3 separate regions of the Homo sapiens genome follow, and all the other regions are linked to region 3. Evidence: promoter capture Hi-C in human tissues and cell types (Jung and others, 2019). All regions are on one chromosome and are shown on one strand. Each heading gives the region's core, a stretch centred on a gene start or on the middle of the fragment in contact. The rest is flanking DNA. Distances are from core to core; before and after follow the strand shown. Region 1 holds the start of CD209 (CD209 molecule). Region 2 overlaps ARHGEF18 (Rho/Rac guanine nucleotide exchange factor 18). Region 3 holds the start of CAMSAP3 (calmodulin regulated spectrin associated protein family member 3).

Region 1 (2,700 bases), core at 33-2,532, 150 kb after region 3:
GAGAGCCAGATTCTTCCTGTCCTCCTCCTCCTCCCTCTCCTGTCCTGCCCTAGAGTGGGGAGGGGCTGTGGGAGAGGCCCCTACAGACCCCCAGGGACAACATCTTGGCTCTCAGTCCCACCTCCCTCCCAGATCTGGCAGCCCCAGGCTGTGTCCACAGCCAAAAGCCAGGCGTGGGGACCCCAGACCCTCAGAACCTGCCCCTGACCTTGGACAAGGAGCCCAGCCAAGAGCGTGAAGGAGAGGAGTTGCAGCACCAGGGGACCATGGCCAAGACACCCTGAGAGAGGATACATGCGTCAGCCTGCCAGTGTCCCCACCGGAGCCTGGCCCAGGGAGAGCCTGGTCTAAATCCCTCAGCACCCCAGGACCCAGGAACCCCAGCCCCAGCCCCCTCCACTCCAACACCTGGGAATCCAGGCCCTAGCTCTAACCTCCCCAGGACCCAGGGACCCCGTCCCCAGCCTCCCCTTCCCCAGGTCCCAGGAACCAGGTACCTGCTTCCACCTCCCCAGGACCCAGGAATCCAGGCCCCAGCCTCTACATTCCCAGGTCCCTGGAACCCAGGCCCCCAGCTCCCACCTCCCCAGGACCCAGGGACCCAGGACCCAGCCTCCCCTTCCCCAGGTCCCAGTAACCCAGGTACCTGCTCCCACCTCCCCAAGACCCAAGAATCTGGGTCCCAGCCCCTACATCCCCAGGTCCCAGGAACCCAGGCCCAAGTCCCCACCTCCCCATGACCCAGGAGTCCAGGCCCAGGCCCCCACCTCTCCAGGACCCAGGAGTCTAGGCCCCTGACCCCACCTCCCCAGGACCCAGGAACCCAGGCTTCAACTTCTACCTCCCCAGAACCCAGGAGTCTTGGCCCCAGCCTCCACCTTCCCAGGAACCAGGAATTCAGGCCCCAAACTCAACCTCCTCAGGTCCCAGGAGTCCAGGCCCCTAGCCCCACATCCCCAGGACCCAAGAGTCCAGGCCCCAGCGTCCAGCTCCTCAGGACCCAGGAGTCCAGGAGTCTCTCGTCTCTCCTCCCAAACTGCTAAGTCCTCTCTACCTGCTAAGCTCTTGTATCCTCGAGTCTGTCGGAATCCAAGGCCTCTCAGCTGTTCCTCCTCTGAATGGATAGACGTGAAATCAGAGCCTGGGCAGGCTGAGGCCATGGCTGGCCATCCCTTCCCCCTTCCCAGAATCCCAGCGTCCCAACCCAGCCTCACCCAGGAGGCCCAGCTGCTGCAGTCTTGGTTCCTTGGAGTCACTCATGTCACCCCACTCTCCCCCAGTGTCCAGAACTCCTGGGGGCCACAGCTTTTATTTCCCACCCTGTGATCTTTACTTCCTAAATCTAGTCTCCCACAGAAAGAGAAACAGGAAGTTGGGTAGGGATCTGTCATCCAAAAGACTAGTGGAAAGCATCAGAGCATGAGATGGGCCGGATCTTTCAAGAATTTCAGGGAGGCAGTGGGGGATGGTCTGGGGTTGACAGGGAGAAGGACTCATCCACTCATGGATGGCTGAGCAGTGGGATGCTTTTAATGAAATCTGATAAATTGTAAGAGAAAGCTACTGTGTTACACCCCCTCCACTAGGGCAAGGGTAGGCAGGTAGCACCCCCAGTTCCTGGAAGCACTGTCCCCTGTGACCTCCTGGCTTTCCTGCTTTGAGCTGCTGCTGTCCTCATTTTTGGGAATTCCTGCTGACTTTGGGAGTTGGGGCAGAATCATAATTGCTTGTTTATTTAATGCCTAGGGTAGTCAGGTACTTTTCCAACAGCTTTATAAACTCATTCATTTAATGTTCCTACCCTTCAGTAGATCATATGACCTCCATTATACAGATGAGGAAACTGAGGAGGCACTGCAAGTTTAGCTAACTGGCCCAAGGTCACACAGCTGGTAGATGGTGGGGCTGAGACTTGAACCCAGTCTGCCTCCACAGTGCATGCTGTTAACCAAAGAGTGAAATAGTATCAAAGAGGAAAGAAAAGATCCATAGCAGCTTTATTTAGAATGATCTGAAATTGGAACAACCCCGTGTCCACCAGCAGGTGAATGATAAAAAATATAATGGCATATTCAAAGATTGGAATACTATACAGCAATGAAAAAGCAAAGTACTAGTACATTTAATAACATAGATAAATCTCACAAAACAGTAAAAGGACCCAGACAGAGTGAGTACACACTGTAAGATTTGATTTTGTGTGAATTTTGAGAACAGGCAGAACTAACCTTTGAAGGAGACTCAGAATGGGAATTATCAGGAAGGAGCAGGTGGAGATTGACAACGGGGTTTCTGTATGCTGGAAATGTTCTATATTTTGATCATAGAGATGTGCATTTACCACATGTGTGTTAAATCTCAGTTTAAAGATGGAAAATACATACATGTATCATAATCAAATAGTGGTTTTCGACCTGATCTTTACTTTGTATTCTTTTTTAAAATGTTTTAATTTTAGAATAATTTTGGGTTTATAGCAAAGTTGCAAATGTAGGAAAGAGATTTCCCATATGTAAATCCCTCACCTAGGGATCCCTAATGTGAACCCAGTTTCTCCTAATGGTAACATTTCACATGGTAATGAGGTAGGAAACTGGAAGAACTTGTTTTCTGGCCACAACCCTGCAGACCCATACAGAATCTGGTCCAGATGAGATGATGTGAAGAAACCAGCAGGAACCAGCAGATGGCAACAAAAGC
Region 2 (2,700 bases), core at 14-2,513, 180 kb before region 3:
GCTACTCTGGAGGCTGAGGCAGGAGAATCGCTTGAACCCGGGAGGTGGAGGTTGCAGTGAGCTGAGATCGCGCCATTGCACTCCAGCCTGGCGACTGCGAGACTCTGTCTCAAAAAAAAAGAAAAAAACAAAAACAATAAAAATACAAAAATTAGCCGGGTGTGGGGGCAGGTGCCTGTAATCCCAGCTACTCGGGTGGCTGAGGCAAGAGGATCATTTGAACCCAGAAAGCAGAGGTTGCAGTGACCCGAGATCGTGCCACTGCACTCCAGCCTGGGCCACAGAGTAAAATTCCATCTCAAAATAAATAAGTAAATAAATAAATAAAATAATACTAGTTTGAGCCAGTGATTATGATACAACTGTGTTCTCCCCTCCCCCAAAATAAAAACCACGCATGCCATTCAGCTATTCTGCTCCCAAGACCGCTTTCAACAAAGCTGGACCCAAGGACCTTAGTTCCATCCCTTATCCCATTGAATCTCCAGGCAGCTCCATTAAACCACCTCCCTAACCCTGCTCCTGGGCACTCCTGGGTTCTCCCGGGCTTCAGGTAGCACCTTAGGCCCAAATGTCCACCCCTTGCTTAGAGCGCCCTCCTGAGCGCAACACCCCGTGCCAGCGGCTGCCTGCTGCCGAGCCCGCCACTCTGCCCCCCACTTCATGGCCCCTGCACCGCCCCTCTCTGCCACTCTCCACCCTGCCCTCGAGGTCCCGGTCCCCCTGCGTCCACCAGCAACCCCTTCCAGTGTGCCCTGCTCCCCACGCTGCAGCCATCGTTTCGAGAAGCAGAGCTCATCCAATCCTCCACATAAACCTTTCCGTGGCTTCAGGTTCAATGACAAAGTGACTCTCCAAGGGCCCCCAAGGCCCATGGCAGAACCTCCTGGAATAAGACATTCCCTCCACCCTGCCCTTTCCTTTCTCTGACCGGTCCAGACCAGGTCCCTCCCAGACGTCCTCTCCCTCCCTCCCTGAAGCGCGTATTTGTTAAGCACCCACCCACCACATGACAGGCCTCGTGCCAGCCATGACCACAGAGACCCGCAGCTCCTGGAGTTTCCCTTCTAAATAAACAAAACTACAGTTGAGCCTTGGGATTTGCAGAGTCAGTGTTTACCCTTTTGAAGATATACCCAGGAGTAGAATTGCTGGATCGGATGGTAATTCTTTGTTTAATTTTCACCCGCTTGCTAAAATTTCTCTGTAACCGCAACATGAATCCATTCATATTGGTGCAGAGTGGAGAAAACTTGGAGTTCCCACACAGGTTCCCAGCTGAGGCTGAGCGAGGCGACACTCCACCTTCTCGTTCAGCCTCTCACACTGTAAACACATGCCCTGTTGAAGGTCTATGGAGTACCACGGTTTTCGCATTTGTGTGCTTCTTGTTGGTGATGTTAATGTTGAAAATGACCCCTAGCTGGGCGAGGAGGCTCATGCCTATAATCTCAGCACACTGGGAGGCCTAGGCAGGAGGATTAGTTGAGCCCAGGAGTTTGAGACCAGCCAGCCTGGGCAACATAGCAAGACCCTATCTCTAAAAAAAAAATTTTTTTTAATTAGCCAGGCATGGTGTCACACACCTGTGGTCTCAGCTACTTGGGAGGCTGAGGCAGGAGGATCCCTTGATTCCTTGAGCCCAGGAGTTCGAGGCTGCAGTGAGCTACGATCACGCCACTGCAGTCCAGCCTGGGCAGCAGAGACCTCATCTCTAAAATAACAATATAATAATAAATTTTTTAGAAAATAAAATGACCTTCAAACGTAGTGCTGCAGTGCCAGCAAGTGCCCCTGAGTGCAAGGAGGCTGTGATGTGCCTCACGGAGAAAATTCGTGTGTGTGTGTGTGTGTGTGTGTGTGTGTGTGTGTGTGTGTGTGTGTTTTGGGGTGGATGATATTTTATTTGGGTTTTTTTTTTTTTTTGAGACAGAGTCTTGCTCTGCTGCCAAGCCTGGAGTGCAGTGGCACGATCTTGGCTCACTGCAAACTCTGCCTCCCGGGTTCACACCATTCTCCTGCCTCAGCCTCCCGAGTAGCTGGGACTACAGGTGCCCGCCACCACGCCCAGCTAATTTTTTGTATTTTTAAGTGGAAACGGGGTTTCACTGTGTTAGCCAGGATGGTCTCGATCTCCTGACCTCATGATCCGCTCGCCTCAGCCTCCCAAAGTGTTGGGATTACAGGCGTGAGCCACCATGCCCGGCTGTTTTTGTTGTTGTTGTTGTTTTTTGAGATGGAGTCTCACACTGTTGCCCATTCTGGAGTGCAGTGGCACCATCTCGGCTCACTGCAGCCTTTGCCTCCCAGGTTCAAGCGATTCTCCTGCCTCAGCCTCCCAAGTAGCTGGGATTACAGGCACGCACCACCACACCTGCGTAATTTTTGTATTTGTGGTAGAGACAGGGTTTCACTATGTTGGTCAGGCTGGTCTCGAACTCCTGACCTCAAGTGATCCACCCGCCTCAGCCACCACCCAAAGTGCTGGGATTACAGGTGTGAACCACTACACCTGGCCTGGATGATATTTTAAACAAGGTGGCCTCTGGGGCTTCACTGAGAAGGTGGGCAGGTCAGACAAGATGGCTTACCACCTGTAATTCTAGCACTTTGGGAGGCAGAGGGAGGAGGACTGCTTGAGGCCAGGAGTTCAAGACCAGCCTGGGCAGCATAGCAAGACCCTGTCTCTATTTGAAAATT
Region 3 (2,700 bases), core at 131-2,630:
TCACACTCTTGCAGAAATATACACACTTTTTTTTTTTTTTTGAGACAGGGTCTCACTCTGTTGGCCAAGCTGGAGTGCAGTGGCACTATCTCAGCTTCTGCCTCCCTGGTTCAAGCGATTCTCCCGCCTCAGCCTCCCGAGTACTTGGGATTACAGGCATGCACCATTATGCCCGGCTAATTTTTAAAAATTTTATTTTTAGTAGAGACGGGGTTTTGCTATGTTGGCCAGGCTACTCTTGAACTCCTGGCCTCAAGTGATCTGCCCGCCTTGGCCTCCCAAAGTGCTGGGATTACACTCGTGGCCACCGCTCTCGGCCTGAAATACACACACTCTCAATGTCTCTCCATACTCCTGCATTGACAGAGGCATCAATAACAGCCTCATACAACACACCAGTACGTTCAGATGCACAGAGATAGACATACTCACAGCACTCCAAAAACACACACACAGCCGGGCACGGTGGCTGCCGCCTGTAATCCCAGCACTTTGGGAGGCTGAGGCGGGTGATCACCTGAGGTCAGGAGTTTGAGACTAGCCTGGCTAACATGGTGAAACCCCAACTCTACTAAAAATACAAAAATTAGCCGGGAGTGGTGGCGCAACCCCGTAATCCCAGCTACTCGGGAGGCTGAGGCAGGAGAATCGCTTGAGCCTGGGAGGCGGAGGTTGCAGTGAGTCGAGATCGCGCCACTGCACTCCAGCCTGGGAGACAGAGTGAGTGAGACCCTGTCTCAAAAACAAAAACAAAAACAAAAACAAAAAACAGACACACACTCATCACTTCCATCCATCCTCAGGATACAGACATCTATATAATACATATCCTTGTACACACAACAAATTAAACACACACTTACACGTGCCCAGATACATACCCCACACACACACACCCCTAGACACCCCCCAATACACTTGGTCACCACCCAAATGTATTCAGAGATACACAGATACGAAGACACTCATATTCTTGTGCCTTCACTAACATAATCAGAAACAGGTGCACCCAACCACTCTCTGCCTGAGGGCCGGCGTTTATTGCAAGCACTTGCAGGAGCTCCTACGCCTAAGGGTAGACACTGGGGCTGGCACACACAGAGGGTCCCTAATCCTTTCCAGTAAGCTAGGCGCGCGCGCACACACTCACACACGCGCGCGCGCACACATACACACTCAGTCCTCCGCAAGCTCCCTCCACCATCGCCGCAGTCCAGGCCGCCCCCCTCCGCCCCGCCCCTGCTGCTCCGTGCACACTGCAGTGAGGGGCCCGGGCGGGGCGCAGGGGCGCGCCAGGGTCCGGGTCCGGGTTCGGGGGCGGGGCGCACCTGGGCTCCTCCCCGGGGCGGGCCCGACGCAGCGTCGCCAGCGCAAGCGGCCGCACCTGGCTCAGCAGCGGCGGCGGCGGCGGCGGCGGCAGCGGCGGTAGCAGCAGCGGGCCCGGCTGGGGCGCGAGCGCGGCGCAGCCCAGCCCAGCCCAGTCCGAGCGCGGACCCGGCGCCCGCAGCCCCGGCGCCGCCATGGTGGAGGCGGCGCCCCCCGGGCCCGGGCCGCTGCGGAGGACCTTTCTAGTGCCCGAGATCAAGTCGCTGGACCAGTACGATTTCTCGCGGGCCAAGGCGGCGGCCAGCCTGGCGTGGGTGCTGCGGGCCGCGTTCGGGGGCGCAGGTACCGGGGCTCGGGGGACCGGGGTCGGGGGCGGCGGGCCGGGCGCGGCAGGTGCTGGGGGGGGGCGGGGCGCCGGGCCGGGAAGGCAGGGGGCCGTGGGAACAATAGCGCCGGCCGCCGGGGGTCCCCGGGCTCGGGCCCCTGCCGCGCCGGGGCCTCCGAGCTTCCTGCTCGGCCCGGGCGGTGGACTTTGCCCCGCCGGCTGCGGGAGCGCGGTGGGGGTGGGGCCCGCGGCCCAGCTCCGCGCGGGGGTCCCCGGCGTCCAAGCCTCCAGGTGAGCCGGGCGGGGTCTGCGGGCCGGGTGGGGTCTCCCCGTGCGGACCTCTCGTTCCCGCCTCCCGCACCCCCAAGGCCTTCCCTTGCACGCCTTCTTCTCTTTTACACACATCACGCCCCTGCGAGGATCTCCTCTCGGTCTCTTCCCCCGCCACACACCCTGGAGACCCAGACCCCGACCTCGCTGGGGGGTCTCGAGCGCTCCGGTCTCCACCACCGCACGACCCCCAGGCCCCAACACACACCCCGCGTCGGCCCTGGCCGCGCTGCGGGCGGCGACCGGGGAGCTCTGGGAACCCCCTTTCGCCTCCATAGCCCCCTCCAGCGCCTGGCAGCTGCGACTTATGGCCCCATTTTACTGGGGAGGTTGGCGAGCCCAGCTGAAGGGAAATGGGTAGTACAAGATCGCCTGGGGTGGGCCCCCCGCTCCTCCCGGCTGCGGGGCCTTCTCCCATTAGAGCAGATCCTTCACTCCCTCCCCCAGGCCCGCTTGCCTGAGAGCCCGAGCCACCCTAATGGGGAGGATGCCGTAATCCCGGGTCCCCGGGATTAGAGGCCCTGGAAACACTCAGTCTCGGCTTTGGGCAGCTTCACAACCCCAGGCCAGAGCTAGGAGTCAGGGCCTGGCCAGAGAAGACAGGGGTTAATTAAGGTCTGGGCTTTCCAGCGGGGAGCTGTGGGGGTACATCCTTTTCTCCCACTGGTTCTGCCCACTGGTGTTGGCACAGCCCATCCCCCCTCTCCCTGGCCTTCCCA

What was found. Contacts are between HindIII fragments. The study calls those that stand out against the background at their distance.
Region 1: the fragment with the promoter of CD209 here is called in contact with the fragment with the promoter of CAMSAP3 in region 3 in 4 of the 25 tissues and cell types used here (liver, mesenchymal stem cells, psoas muscle and 1 more).
Region 2: a fragment that was not itself captured here is called in contact with the fragment with the promoter of CAMSAP3 in region 3 in 4 of the 25 tissues and cell types used here (dorsolateral prefrontal cortex, liver, mesendoderm cells and 1 more).

What each region holds. Positions count from the first base shown.
Region 1 is chr19:7,746,252-7,748,951 of GRCh38, forward strand. CD209 (CD209 molecule) reads right to left here and starts at 1,283. Exons shown (of 7, transcript NM_021155.4): 1 at 1,215-1,283; 2 at 1,055-1,114; 3 at 209-280. The coding sequence starts at 1,260. RefSeq lists promoters at 1,161-2,588, 1,233-2,301, 1,260-1,497, 1,261-2,368, 1,261-1,767 and 7 more, cis regulatory regions at 1,315-1,320, 1,334-1,339, 1,357-1,362, 1,363-1,373, 1,368 and 8 more, an enhancer at 2,351-2,700 and a silencer at 2,632-2,700. The HindIII fragment of the contact is 15,961 bases long and covers 1-2,700 here.
Region 2 is chr19:7,414,695-7,417,394 of GRCh38, forward strand. All of the region lies in intron 10 of ARHGEF18 (Rho/Rac guanine nucleotide exchange factor 18), which reads left to right. Among named protein-coding and RNA genes, the nearest start is that of ARHGEF18-AS1, 21 kb to the left of the region's middle. The HindIII fragment of the contact is 7,415 bases long and covers 1-2,700 here.
Region 3 is chr19:7,594,483-7,597,182 of GRCh38, forward strand. CAMSAP3 (calmodulin regulated spectrin associated protein family member 3) reads left to right here and starts at 1,381. Exons shown (of 17, transcript NM_020902.2): 1 at 1,381-1,668. The coding sequence starts at 1,521. RefSeq lists a silencer at 1,081-1,520 and an enhancer at 2,360-2,700. The HindIII fragment of the contact is 16,585 bases long and covers 1-2,700 here.